5 separate regions of the Homo sapiens genome follow, and all the other regions are linked to region 1. The links are contacts of gene promoters, found by promoter capture Hi-C in blood cells and fetal thymus (Javierre and others, 2016). All regions are on one chromosome and are shown on one strand. The core of a region is centred on a gene start or on the middle of the fragment in contact, and the rest is flanking DNA. Distances in the headings are between cores, read along the strand shown. Region 1 holds the start of TRIM24 (tripartite motif containing 24). Region 2 overlaps ZC3HAV1 (zinc finger CCCH-type containing, antiviral 1). Region 3 overlaps CREB3L2 (cAMP responsive element binding protein 3 like 2). Region 4 has its middle 2.6 kb from the start of ZC3HAV1L. Region 5 overlaps CREB3L2 (cAMP responsive element binding protein 3 like 2).

What was found. Contacts are between HindIII fragments. The CHiCAGO score rates a contact against its expected background, and 5 or more counts as called.
Region 2: a contact is called between a fragment that was not itself captured here and the fragment with the promoter of TRIM24 in region 1, in 2 of 17 cell types (total CD4 T cells and naive CD4 T cells). The highest score is 6.1, in total CD4 T cells.
Region 3: a contact is called between a fragment that was not itself captured here and the fragment with the promoter of TRIM24 in region 1, in 1 of 17 cell types (total B cells). The highest score is 7.6, in total B cells.
Region 4: a fragment that was not itself captured here is called in contact with the fragment with the promoter of TRIM24 in region 1 in 1 of 17 cell types (fetal thymus); the score reaches 5.4 in fetal thymus.
Region 5: a contact is called between a fragment that was not itself captured here and the fragment with the promoter of TRIM24 in region 1, in 2 of 17 cell types (naive B cells and total B cells). The highest score is 6.2, in naive B cells.

Annotation. Positions count from the first base shown.
Region 1 is chr7:138,458,835-138,461,534 of GRCh38, forward strand. It overlaps TRIM24 (tripartite motif containing 24), which reads left to right and starts at 1,425. Exons shown (of 19, transcript NM_015905.3): 1 at 1,425-2,078. The coding sequence starts at 1,715. RefSeq lists enhancers at 1-390, 794-1,576 and silencers at 1,087-1,476, 1,537-1,786, 1,817-2,296. The HindIII fragment of the contact is 2,319 bases long and covers 138-2,456 here.
Region 2 is chr7:139,070,688-139,073,387 of GRCh38, forward strand. The region is part of intron 7 of ZC3HAV1 (zinc finger CCCH-type containing, antiviral 1); the gene reads right to left. Among named protein-coding and RNA genes, the nearest start is that of MIR10399, 28 kb to the left of the region's middle. The HindIII fragment of the contact is 5,327 bases long and covers 1-2,700 here.
Region 3 is chr7:137,938,871-137,941,570 of GRCh38, forward strand. All of the region lies in intron 1 of CREB3L2 (cAMP responsive element binding protein 3 like 2), which reads right to left. Among named protein-coding and RNA genes, the nearest start is that of CREB3L2-AS1, 13 kb to the right of the region's middle. The HindIII fragment of the contact is 270 bases long and covers 1,296-1,565 here.
Region 4 is chr7:139,037,278-139,039,977 of GRCh38, forward strand. No RefSeq gene overlaps it. Among named protein-coding and RNA genes, the nearest start is that of ZC3HAV1L, 2.6 kb to the left of the region's middle. The HindIII fragment of the contact is 733 bases long and covers 957-1,689 here.
Region 5 is chr7:137,922,698-137,925,397 of GRCh38, forward strand. The region is part of intron 2 of CREB3L2 (cAMP responsive element binding protein 3 like 2); the gene reads right to left. Among named protein-coding and RNA genes, the nearest start is that of CREB3L2-AS1, 29 kb to the right of the region's middle. The HindIII fragment of the contact is 1,156 bases long and covers 688-1,843 here.

The sequences.
Region 1 (2,700 bases), core at 175-2,674:
ATGCTATCAAAATTGAATAACTGAATACGGAGGTGGCCCAAGCACCTGTTTTTCACTAAGCTTCTCAAGTTATTCTTATGCAAACTAAGGTTTAAGAGCTACTTCCATGCAAAAAAACAAACAAACAAAAAATCCCAAGCTTAAACAGGAACCAATGGGTGGGGGAGGCGGGAAGAGCTGTTGAATGTCTTGTGATTAAGTAAAAGAACCTCTCACTTGAGGCCTACGGAGGTTGTGTTTAAGGGCAAGGTCTTGAAGGAAGGCTACGTTGCCTAGCCCTCCCCCATTGCCATCCCATATAGTCCTCCAGGAAAACTGTGATTTTAGCAAAGCCTTTCATGACCCACTCCATCTTTCTCTAAAGTCCAGTACCGCTTCATTAGTATTGACAAAAAAAAAAAAAAAAGGTAAATACTTCTTAAAGTTACGTGTTACAAAATCTTGTTTCCTTCATTCCGTTTCTATTCTTCAAGTTCCTTAAAAGCTGCGCCATTTTTTGAGTGAAAAATGTGCGTAACTTCTGATATCAGCGTAGAGAGGTGAGGGAGGGAGGGAGGGAATAAAATAAGAGGGAGGGAGGAAATACAAAAGAATCCTGAAGTTATGAATTATTTGGGTAACAGTATTGAGGTTTATTTTTGCTTAATGATGCTATATTTATGCAATAAAAACATTTGTCAATCTGTATTAATTCCTGGGAAAACGAACCACTTTTAGTCACTTAAAAAGCAAATCACTGACTTTAAAAATTAATTTCACCTTTTTCATTGGGGAAACCCTTTAAAAATTTCCAACTTGCACGAGAACTTCCCCCCCTTATTCTTCATACTCATTCATTCTAGAGATGAGTAAAATTAGGTTGCAATATCCCTGCTGCCTCCAGAGTACCTCTTTCACACAGTATTTTAAAAAATTATTTCCTTGTTTGCTCTTCAGTACCTCCACTCCTTCCTCCTGTGACCCTCCGACCATATTTACTCCTCCTACAAGACCAGGTCTCCAGTAATGAAATCAGTTTTCCAAGCAGTTACTTAATTAACGGCATTGAGTAGACAAGTGAGGTCCCGCCCCCTAGGAGGAGCTAACACCGCGGACCGAATCAGGCGGATGGTCGTTAACAAATGAACCCTTAATCTTTTCAGAGGAGGAAACATACACAAAGGCCCAATCAGAAGCCGCGATTTCAGGCGTCCGGAGGGGGCGGGGCTGGGCAAGCACCTCCCACTTCCCAACCTCCCGCCGCGGCCGACGGAGCCTCGCGGGCTCCAACAGGTCCCGCCCCCTCGCCAGGCGCGGCCGCTATTGGGCGGCGCGCTCCACACCGAAGCCTCAGTTGCTGGGAGAGGGAGGGCGGGGGCGGGGGCGGGGCCTGAGGTGGGCCAGGGGGATGAAGAGAAAGGCGGGGAGGCAAGGGCGGGCTGGGCGTATTCCACGAGCGCCTCGGCGGTTGGCGAAGCGGACGGGGTGCAGCCTCCCCGGTGCGAGGAACGGTCTCCGCTGACAGATACCCTCCTTCCGGCCGCGCCACTCGGGAGGCGGATCCCGTGGGCCTGAGGAGGCTTCCCCCGCCCGGTTTGCTTTCCCTCCCTCGCTGGCGCTGCCGCGAGTCCACCGAGCGGCCTCTGAGGAGCAGCCGCAGGAGGAGGAGGAGGTCGTCGGGGGCGGCGGGCGGAGACCGCGCTCTCGCTTCCCCGGCGGCGGCAAGGGCAGGACAATGGAGGTGGCGGTGGAGAAGGCGGTGGCGGCGGCGGCAGCGGCCTCGGCTGCGGCCTCCGGGGGGCCCTCGGCGGCGCCGAGCGGGGAGAACGAGGCCGAGAGTCGGCAGGGCCCGGACTCGGAGCGCGGCGGCGAGGCGGCCCGGCTCAACCTGTTGGACACTTGCGCCGTGTGCCACCAGAACATCCAGAGCCGGGCGCCCAAGCTGCTGCCCTGCCTGCACTCTTTCTGCCAGCGCTGCCTGCCCGCGCCCCAGCGCTACCTCATGCTGCCCGCGCCCATGCTGGGCTCGGCCGAGACCCCGCCACCCGTCCCTGCCCCCGGCTCGCCGGTCAGCGGCTCGTCGCCGTTCGCCACCCAAGGTGAGAACCGGCCGCGGCCGCTGGGGAGCCCGGGGAGAGGGCCAGGAGGGGGCGGGCGCCCTTGTGCGGCGCGACCCGCTGTCATGTCGCCGCCGCCCGGGGTGCGCGGCGGGGGAGGGGCGAGCAGGAGGGTCTGTGCTGGCGACGGTGACATGGAGGGCCCGCGCTCTGCGGCGTGTCGCGCTCGGCCAGCAACTTCCCCGGGCGCTGTGGACTTGACCGCGCCGCCGCCGCCGCCGCTGCTCCGCATTCTCAACAGCCGGGCGGCCCCTGCCACTCGCACTTTTGCAGACCTCTGTCGGAGTCTCCTGCAGCCGGAATCTCGGGTTCTTTGCCGGCTGCAGCCAGTTAACTGCTACCCGCCCGCTGCCTCCACAAAGCTTTGTCCAGGTCCATATGATCCTGATCATCTCGTCTATACTCACGTTATTTGAGCTGCAGGGGAGAAGGGAGGGATGAAGATGAAGTGATGGTGACTTTCTTTGATGATTGATTGCAGATCGGATGTCATTTATTTCTTATCTTGCATGTTTGGGGCTCTTTACCTTAATGAGTTCCCAGTTCTCTTCCCTCTCCTCTGCTGGGGACAAAGGAACCAAGAGACGTTGTTTTGTTGTGTGTC
Region 2 (2,700 bases), core at 195-2,694, 610 kb after region 1:
AGGAAGGGCTGGGTTGGGTGCGGTGGCTTACACCTGTAATCCCAGCACTTTGGGAGGCAGAGGCAGGCAGATCACCTGAGGTCAGGAGTTCAAGACCAGCCTGGCCAACATGGTGAAACCCCGTCTCAACTAAAAATACAAAAAATTAGCCAGGCATGGTGGTGGATGCCTGTAATCCCAGCTACTGGGGAAGCTGAGGCAGGAGAATTGCTTGAACCTGGGAGGCAGAGGCTGCAGTGAGCCGAGATCACAACATTGCACTCTAGCCTGGGTAACAAGAGCAAAACTCTGTCTCAAAAAAAAAAAAGCTCAGGAAGTTTCTTGATGTTTTATTAGAGAACATGATTGAACTTGTGTAAATTTAAATTTAAATACAGTATCTTTCCCCCAAATAGTTCCTTTTGGTTTCTGAAACCTTTTTTTTTTTTTTTTGGAGTCTTACTCTGTCACCCAGGCTGGAGCGTAGTGGCACAGTCTCGGGTCACTGCAACCCCTACCTCCTTGGTTCAAGCAATTTTCCTGCCTCAGCCTCCCAAGTGGCTGGAATTACAGGTGCACGCCACCAAGCCCAGCTAATTTTCTGTGTGTATTTTTAATAGAGACACAGTTTCACCATGTTGGCCAGGCTGGTTTTGAACTCCTGACCTCAGGTGATCCACACGCCTTGGCCTCCCAAAGTGCTGGGATTACTGACATGAGCCACCACGCCCGGCCTCCTGGAACCTTGATGTAACTAGAATGCAAATGTTTGTTTGCCAACCCTTCCCCTTTATATCTTACTAAAAATTCCAATTATTTGACATAAAAACCATCAAGACCTATAGCTTATTTTTATTTTAACCAAGGCTAATTAATTTGGGTTTATAATTTTATTTCCACAGGCGCCTGACAGAATCGCTTATTTGACATCATCCTTGGCTTGAGCATACAAAGAATCTGTGCAAAGTTTAATATCATAGGTGTTTTCACACACACGGGAGTTTCAGCAGAACTCTGTTCCACAGAGATGCTACATGGGCCACCACAGGAGAGAGAAGAGCAACAAGGAGGGGTCCAGGAGACAGCTCTGAGCCCATATCCTATTCCACCAGGGCAGCCCTGCTCTACTCTAGTTGGCTCGTTTAGAGTCTTTGAAAGATGGTTTGATAAAATGTATCTGCTGCTAAGACAGTTTGGAAACCAATATGCTGCTGAATTCATGGTAGGGCTGTTTGTGGTTGAGGACCTCACCACAGCACACAGGGTTCCCGCCATGTGGCCCACTATAGGAGGTGTTTTTCTCAGGCCTCACTAACATAACAGAGTAGTGCCTCTCCCAAGTATTTTGTTTGCTTTGGCAGTTAGGCAGCTCAGAGCCAAATGTATAGCCCACTGACTCGTAATTATTAGTTCCGTGCAAAAGTAATCAGTTTTTGCCATTAAAAGTAATTACCACCAACCCAAAAGTAATTTTACACCAACCTAAATATGTAGAACCTTACGCTGCCATTCCTTTGTCCCTGCATTATCTTTTTTTTTTTGGAATCTCACTTTTGTCACCCAGACTGGAGTGCAGTGGTGCAATCTCGGCTCACTGCAACCTCTGCCTGCAGGTTCAAGCGATTCTCCTGCCTCAGACTCCTGAGTAGCTGGGATTACAAGCACGCGCCACCACACCCAGCTAATTTTTTGTATTTTTAGTAGAGACAGGGTTTCACCATGTTGGCCGGGCTGGTCTCGAACTCCTGACTTCAGGTGATCCACCCCACCTCGGCCTCCCAAAGTGCTGGGATTACAGGAGTGAGCCACCGCACCCAGCCCATGCATTATTTTTGGCTTCATTTTAATCTCTTGCTTTCATTTTCTGTTTCTCATCACCCTGATTCCATTACCTGCTTAAGGTCTGTTTTCTCTCTCTCTTTAATCCTATGAGTTAAAGGGAGGAAGGGACACTGAGACAGAAGGACAGAGGCTCTGCTCACCTAAACTTCCCTCCCTATTACTATGCCCCCACTATGGGTCAGCCTAGGATCTTCTAGTTCCAGTCCTTTAAGTCCATCTAAATCCAGACTCTGAATGAATAGTAGTGACTATCTGTACCAGATGTGGTTTCACTGCTTGAGTGAATTAACACATTCCCTGGTCTAATTAACCATGCCATCATCCATACAGTCCTTTAAGTTCTCACTCTCACCCTCTTTTCCAGCTCAAAGCAGTAGTCTCTGTACATTTTATGTGTTTATACATAGAAAGCTATCTCAAGGTTCCACCCTCCCCTCTCATGGTGAGGAAAGAGGGAAGTGCAGCTGACATGTCTCAAGCGGTTCCTTAAAAATAATTAATATATGGCCGGGCGCAGTGGCTCACGTCTGTAATCTCAACACTTTGGGAGGCCGAGGTGGGCGGATAACCTGAGGTCAGGAGTTCACGACTAGCCTGTCCAACATGTTGAAACCCCATGTCTACTAAAAATACAAAAATTAGCTGGGTGTGGTGGTGGTGCATGCCTGTAATCCCAGCTACTCGGGAGGCTGAGGCAGGAAGATCGCTTGAACCCAGGAGATGGAGGTTGCAGTGAGCCAAGATAACGCCATTGCACTCCAGCATGGGTGATAAGAGTGAAACTCCATCTCAAAAATAAATAAATAAATAAAAATAAAAATTAATATATACTTTAATGTATGACTGCAATTGGAGTACATGTTTGCTGAAAAAAAATTG
Region 3 (2,700 bases), core at 181-2,680, 520 kb before region 1:
ATTTTAAGAGCATCTGCCCACAATACAAATAAATCAGTTAATGAGATGAAGGGAGAAACACCCCACAAGTGGCTCCTGATAACAAAGGAGAGCTGCAAGATTCAGAATTAGCTAGCACATAAAAATTCAATCTGCCTACTTCTTGGCTTATTTACACATATAGCTGCAAATACCCCCAAAATGCACTTCTTCATTCTTTCTGAACCCAAATTAGCCTCTAGCCTAGTAGGGCCTGTCCTTCCATGGCCCAAGAGTATCCAACAAGTACCAACAGGAATAAAAATAATGCGAAGAAAATTTAATAATAATAGCACCTTCCATATTCAATGCATAGTATTTACATATGACAAAACACTTGCACACCATGACTGTATCTGATCCTCACAAGACGGAGAATTATCCCGAGGGTAGAGACAGTGGGGCAGCCTGGAGTAGGGCAGGACCCCTTCCCAGGCACGTTCGGCATAGTCCCTGCTGCCTCTCAATCACTAACACAGAGGACTTGGAGCTCAGATTTCTAATTGTTCCCCAAAAATGCTTTTTGAATTGTAACTTGGGCCTGAGAGAAGGGCAATCTCCTCATGTCAATGAAGGAAATCCTCAGGATCCTTTTAGAGCAGACAGAGCTGTTCCAGAAATACCCGTATCAGGTAGAGAAGTCCTCTGATATGCTTCAAGAAACTCAAACCATCCCCGAGTCCTCTTGCCCCTTCCTTCTGCCACAACAGACAGCTGAATCTCACCAACAAGTGAAAGACCATCAAAGCCATGATCAAGTCAACCGTTCAAGGCTGAGGCAGTACAGAACCTGTGATTCTGTTCTTGTCATCCATAGTGGGGAAGCCACAGAGACTGGGATGCTGAAAGCAGCTGCCATCAGGACCACCAATTCTTCCCTCTCCCTTTTCTCCACTTCTATCCCCGAGTCTAGACTCTACCCCCGCAATCTTGGATGGGAGTGCTGGAGGCCCAGCGGGGCTTTTTGCCTGATCTATCCCACAAGCCAAGGCCAAAAAATGTTTGCTTTTAACCCTCCCACACTTAAGAGCCTCCTACATAACTCAGCCTATGTCCAAATTCCCCACAGTGAGAGTTAAAGTAGATTTAAATTTCTTACTACCCAGTTAAATTCTCTAGATACTCTTCCTAATTGGTGTTGTTGATATCCCTCCTTCTGTCCCTTATCCTTCAATTTGCAGTTTTCAACCCTTTTACATGCTCATTATATAAGGAAATTTGGAGGGTTTTTTGGTCAGACTGCTGTAATGAGGTCTCTTGCCCTCTCTGCAGTCATAAGCTTCTCCTCTCTGGTATCTTCCACTCTCTTAAACAGAAGGCATCCCCATTCCCTCTCCCACAGTATACACTCTCCATCTCCATTTCAGTCTTTACCTCACCAGGGGACACCCAGGACATTCCCTCATATCTTTCAGTGAAGGCACAAGCTAAGGTATTTACTATTCCTACACTCTTGCATCCTACCCTAAAAGAATACAATCTGGTACTCTGCCATTCATTCCAGAAAAATTTTGGATTACAGCAGGCTCCAAATCACAGACTAGTGAAGCTTGAGGAAACACTGGATATCATCTGGCCTGACCTGGTCACTCTAATTTGAGAAAACTGAGGTCCAAAATGGCACATGAAATCAAAGAGTTGAGAACTGAAATCTACACTACAGACTCTCTAACAAGAGAAACGGTGACCAGACATAAAGATCACCAAATGGGTGACTGAAAAGTGTTCCACAGACGACCCCCACAGAATTCTCTGAACAGAACGTGCATGTTGCAATGGAACAATTCTGCCTCCAAGTCAAGATCTAATGCCAAAAACATCAGGTATGAAACACTAACGGGCGATGAAGTTTGTGGGAAAAAATGAACGGCATGCATGCTTCCTAGAAACCTATGCTTTATTTATGAGCCAAATATGTCTTAAGCATTACTGAGATAATCTCATCCCTAGAGGGCCACACTGGGGAAAAGGGAAAGTGCTTGAGAGGTACAAAGTACTGTTTGTGTTGTTTAAATGCTCAGGCATGACTCTGCCAGGAGGTACCCCTCCACCCCAAGATAAGAGCTAAGGGAATCCCGCAGGTCAGCAAATGGGAGACCAGGAAGGTTCTGGCTTCTAGCCACTTTGGCTCCTGCTCTGTGAGACCTCACATGTATGCCCCACCTCTCTGGAATGACATGTGTTGAGACATACCAGGGGATCTTAGCCTTTGAAACCCTTGTGTTATGCACCGGACTCATGGGACAGAAGGCATATAGTCTACATCAGCTCTGTAGATCCTAGCAGCAACCTTGGGTCAAATCACTTGTTCTCTCCACACCACTAGAAAATGAGAAATCCAATCTGCCTTTCAAAACTGTAGTGAAGATAAAAATGAATTCATCGATACAAGTCTAATCCAGATACAAGATGGTGCTATGGTAAATGAAAACTGGCTAAGAAAACCATGTGCAGGCTATGAACACGGAAGTGACTTCCCAGACATCCACAGAGTTCTTATCTCCATCGTGGCCAGCCAGTTAGCAACCGCAGTTATTGGGAGCGCAGTAGCCATTGGCTGTCCGCTCCTGCATGTTCCTTCCTCTCATAAACCTCAACCAGCTGAGGCAATGAACCCTCTTCTATCTCTAAGTGCTACCAGAATCCAAGAGCTTTGAGGCCTGCTCAGGACAGACTATCTTG
Region 4 (2,700 bases), core at 73-2,572, 580 kb after region 1:
GCTGTGAAATTTGGACTTATATCCCGAGAACTTTGGGAAGTCACTAAAGGATTTTCATCTGGGAAGTGTGGATGTCTCCTGAGTGCCACTCAAGGTGTGTCATTCAGCTCTGAGCTTTAATGTCTTCTCTTCAGCAAAACCTTTCCTGACCTCTCAAATCTAAAGTAGCTCCCCAGTCTGCATGGAACTTACCACTGATATTTTTCTTCTTTATTGTGTATTTATATATTTAGCTATAGAATTCAGGCTCATGAAAGCAGGAACCTTGTTTTGTTCATTGCTGTATCCCTACCACCTAAAATAGTACCTGGCCATATTGTAGGATAGGTGTTTTAGAAAGACCCCTGGCAGCAATGAGAAGAATGGATTTCTAGAAAAGCAAGACGAGGTGGGGAATAACAGAAAATAAACAGGATTTGAGGGACTATAACCCCAGTGTTATTTATGTTGAGAGTTTGCAGTGGACAACCCAAGGTAAGACGCTCAACAGGCAGGTGTATTCTGTATACAGGTCTAGACCTTGAGGGACATGAGAAGGGAAGGGATGTAGATTTGCGTGACATCAGAGCATTAGGTAACTGAGAGTTGATAAGATCACCTGGCAAAAATGAAGAGTGTGAAAAGGTGGGGGACGGGGGGAAAGAAGCTTGGCGAATACCCACATTAAATAAGCAAGTGGGGGAAGAGAAAAATAGGCAGTAGCCTACGTCCCCTTGGCACTCAGCATTTGTTCCTGAACTCTCTGCCTAAGCTTTTTCCAACAGAAGGAGGAAGCAGCCAGCAGGAAAGGCAGGCTGGAATTACCAAGGAGCCAACACCTCCAGGAAGAGCCTTCATCCAGGGATGTTGGGGAATTGGTGGTTTGAGGATGCACTCTCAACCCTAAAATTGGCATGAGGATTATTTTAAACTAAAGACATGTAAGATTCAATAGAGGCAAAAAGAAGCCTTCTTGAAGCTTCCTTTATTTCAGTAAAAGCAGAATCTTCTGGGAGTGAGGTTGCCATTCATCCCCTCTCCAGGGGTTTATGGACATGAAATAGAAAACCACGTGCACCTGCATAAACAACTTCCCTATGAACACAAACTTCCTTATCTCCTGTTTGTTCCCTAGAAACCCCTTTGTTCTTCCCATAGGAGCCTTTTTGCCCCCCTCTCTCCCCTATTAAGTTAGGTAAATAAATCATCATCACTTCTTTTGTGCAGTGCCATATGCATATATGTTTTTTCTCTTGTCAGTTAAATTTGCAGCCCCTCAGAACTGAACATAAGAGAGTGCAGGAAAAGTTTTTCCTCCCCAACAATGGATCAAACAGCCCAACTCATTCCTCGTGTGGAACCACTTGGAGGTGTACATTCCATGGTCTCCCAATGTTTCCTCAATGGAACTGAACCCCAGTTGCCCACAGCCACACCTGCTCATTAGCACTCCCCATACAGTCTTCCTTCCTTTCCTTGCCCTACCTCCCCATTCCCCTGCCAGTGTTTCTTAGGATCACCTCCCAAGTAAACTGTGTGCATTCAATCCTTGTCAGATTGCTCCTGAGAGAACATAGCCTAACATATAAACTGATAAGGAGAGGTTAGAGAAAAATGAGAGTCATTCATGGACACGCAGAGGAGAGAGTTTCAAGGAGAAAGTGATCAGCATGGTGAGATACTACAGGGAGGAGCTTTCCTACAAGGGAAAGCTTGTAGACAGTGATAACCTAGGCAGGTTTATTTCAGAGGAATAATGAGAAAAGGTAGATTTCTGTAGGTTAAAAAAAGAAGAATAGAAAAACCGAGGACTTTACTTCTAAAAGTAAGTAAGGTAATGATAATAAGAGGAAGACACAAGACTGAGAAAGGTATTTTATTATAGGAGAGACAAGCATAGTTACATGCTGAGTAGAAAGAGCCAGTAAGACCGGGCGCGGTGGCTCACGCCTGTAATCCCAGCACTTTGGGAGGCCGAGGCGGGCAGACCACGAGGTCAGGAGTTCGAGACCATCCTGGCTAACATGGTGAAACCCCATCTCTACTAAAAGTACAAAAAATTAGCCAGGCGTGGTGGCGGGCGCCTGTAGTCCCAGCTACCCGGGAGGCAGAGACAGGAGAATGGAGTGAACCCAGGAGGCGGAGCTTGCAGTGAGCCAAGATCGTGCCACTGTACTCCAGCCTGGAGAACAGAGTGAAACTCCGTCTCAAAAACAAAACAAAGAGAAAAGAAAGAGCTAGTAAGAATGGAAAGTTGAAAATAAAGGAGGCCAGGTGCGGTGACTCATGCCTGCAGTCCCAGCATTTTGGGAGGCTGAGGCAGGAGAATCACTTGAGTCCAGGAGTTTGAGATCAGCCTGGGCAACATGGTAGAACCCTGTCTCTACTAAAAATGCAAAAATTAGCTAGGCATGGTGGCATGTGCCTGTAGTCTCAGCTACTCAGGAGGCTGAGGTGGGAGGATTGCTTGAGTCTAAGAGGTCAGAGGCTGCAGTGAGCCAAGATCGTGCTACTGCACTCCAGCCTGGGCGACAGAAAAAGGTAGGAAGGAAGGGAAAGGAAAGAAAAGGAAGGAGAGAGAGAAGAAAAAAAGAAAGAATATAAAGGAAAGGGGAATTGTAATCAGCGGGGGATGTCCATAGGCAGTGAGATAGAATGGGAGACGTCAGAGGAACTAACCTCCGACAGGAGGGGAGATGCTTCTTCCATTCACACAACAGG
Region 5 (2,700 bases), core at 16-2,515, 540 kb before region 1:
ATTCATAGGATGCAAAACCCAAGCACAGGGAGGGCGGACCGTACATCCATTTACTATTTATGTAACATATCTAAAGTGAAAAGAAAATTTTATAAATTAAATAAATATGCCTCATCTAAATCCTTTAGCATTTCATTTGTTTGCCCTTTGAGAATTTTCAAAGGAGTTGGCAAATCTTGAACAATTTTTTTATGTAAAAATCTCTTAAAGGAAAAATATAATGGCTAGGCTCTGGAAGCTGGGGAAAGGGGCAAGAATTCAGTTAAATGTGTCAGAATCATATTAAACTACAGCCCACTACATGCTCCAATGGAAGTTACAGGCCTATCTCCCCCTGGCCCGTTCCTGAGTATCTTAACCCTGAAATAACTTTCAGTATTGAATGGCATGAAGAGGTGGTGATAGTAGTAGAAACAGAAAATATTTACTACATCCTTTTTTCTTCAATGGAGAAGTTATGACTCTCATGTATGAATATCCAAAGTAACTGTAATCGCTGGATTAATGTGAACATTGCTTTCTTATACTAATCTAGCACTGCAATGGCTACGCAGAGAAGTCATTATTTTACTTTTTTCAAAAAATAAAAAGGGGAAACATCACTATTGTTTTTATCTGTTTGGAAAAAAGTAAAAGGTAACACCAAAAAAGCGGAGGAATAGCAAAATAGCGTGTATTACAAACCCAAGCTTCAGATGGAAGAGGTCAACTGTTCCTCTGCCTGTCCTCCCCAATCACTGTCAGGTTCTCTCTTTGGCCGTGCATGACAGAGGACCCAGTGACTCAGTAGATACACATACTTTTCTCTTCTACCCCTGAGTCTGGCTACTCTACGATGATTCAGAGTGATGTTCTTGTCATCAGCTCACGCTATATGTGATGAAGACACCGTTATGCACCTCATTTCTGTGATTTTCAAGTCTCACTTCTATGGACCATGTCAACATCAAGATCTCTTCAACACTGCAAAGCAAAAACCTAAGTCATCTCTGACTCATCTCTGCCCCTTCCTCAGCATATTCGATCCTGTGCTTTTCCTGCTGCAGGTTTCATCAAATCATTTCAAAACCCATTTTTTCTTTGCCATCATGTTATATACCTTTCCACTTCTCCCTGGATAACTATATCAGTGCACACCTTCCCTGTTCTCGCATGGCAGCCATAAGATCTTCTGTGTTTCATCTAAGCTCCAAAAAATGTGATCCTATGTTTCTCAGTCCCTGCTTCCCATCAGGCAGAGATAAAACCCTAGTCCTTGCCCTTCTCCAGCCTGTCCCACTTACCCCATGTGACTTTGCTCCAGCAATATCCGCTCACCTTTACCTCACAGACTACTGTGTTCATTCCCACCTGAGAACACAGCTCCATAAATTTAAGGTATCTGTAGTGAACCAGCCTACCCAGCCATCCCTTGCCACTGAAAGCCCTACTAAATTCATCAGGAGGAAGATGATTCTTATCCATGTTCCTGGCCCACCCTGTGTAGACCTGGGACAGCCATAGTCACGGTCCTTTGTTCCACCCTTGACTACATTTGTGATGCAAAGGTAGTATTAGACCACTTCTGTATTAGCCTATTTTATGCTAAGGTCTGTTGATAGTCTATATAATCTTTAGCTCTGTTCTTGTATCATCTTAGAGGATAGGGGCCATGTCTGGTTCTCTCTGAACAGCCCTCATCCAGCACTAGTTTCTTCTTTAGGAAGAACACCAAAATTAAAGGACAATGCAAATGCATACCTAGCATCCCAACTGAATTACACAAAGGAACATGACTGAAATATAGTAACTCATAAAGACAACCTCCATGTGGTGAGGTACAAGACTTGGTCATTCAAATACAAGCTTTTGTTTCTCAAAGCATAAAAGTATCATAAATATTTTGCTGGGATGCTTCTGCGTTTCTCTCTTAACCTCATGACATGTTTTTTTTCTTCTTCCTTCTTCCTTTTTTTTTGGTGTTTTCTTGTTGTTGTTGCCTTTTTTGTAGAACAGAAAACCTTGCTTAGCATCTGGTTCACAGCCTTAATCACAGGGAGAAATGGCTGAGCTGGATGCAGGATGTCTTTCTGGGGGTTTTGAAGGCTGCACCTACATTTCTAGGGTTGGCTCCTGTGGTGGCTGGGCCACATGAAGTTCCTTAGCTCTAGTGTTTCAGAAGTCTACAAAGTCCCCCTGAGACAGATGATTCCTGTGGAATCTTAGAACAGTTATTTTTAACTTTTTTTGGTCACAAACTCTTTTGAGAATCTAAGAAATGATATAATAACTCTCAAAAAATTAACAAATGTAGATAGCCCACATTTTTGTATACAGTTTTAGGGGTCCACAGTTCATCTGAAGTCTGTGATAGAATGATAGGATAAGAACATCTGTGTGTGCCCTTTTCAGTTGTCCTGGGGTTCAGGTGGAGGATGGAGGGAGGAAGGGAAAGTTAGGAGGAAAAGGGCAAAGGAGGAAGAGGGAAAGAGAAGAGTTCTAGTGGGAAGGAGAAGGAGAGAGGGGAAGCAGGAGGCAGAGGGAGAAAAAAGGAGAAAAACTCTAATAAATTAGGAGGGAGTTTCCACTTAACTGTGTGTCATCACTCTTTTTCCAGGCTTAGAAGCAATTGCAGAAGAACTGTATTTAATCTAAGTACAATTGGACAGTGAGAGCTGAATCACTGGCTTTCCCAGGTATAATGAAATATTAATTCCCCAT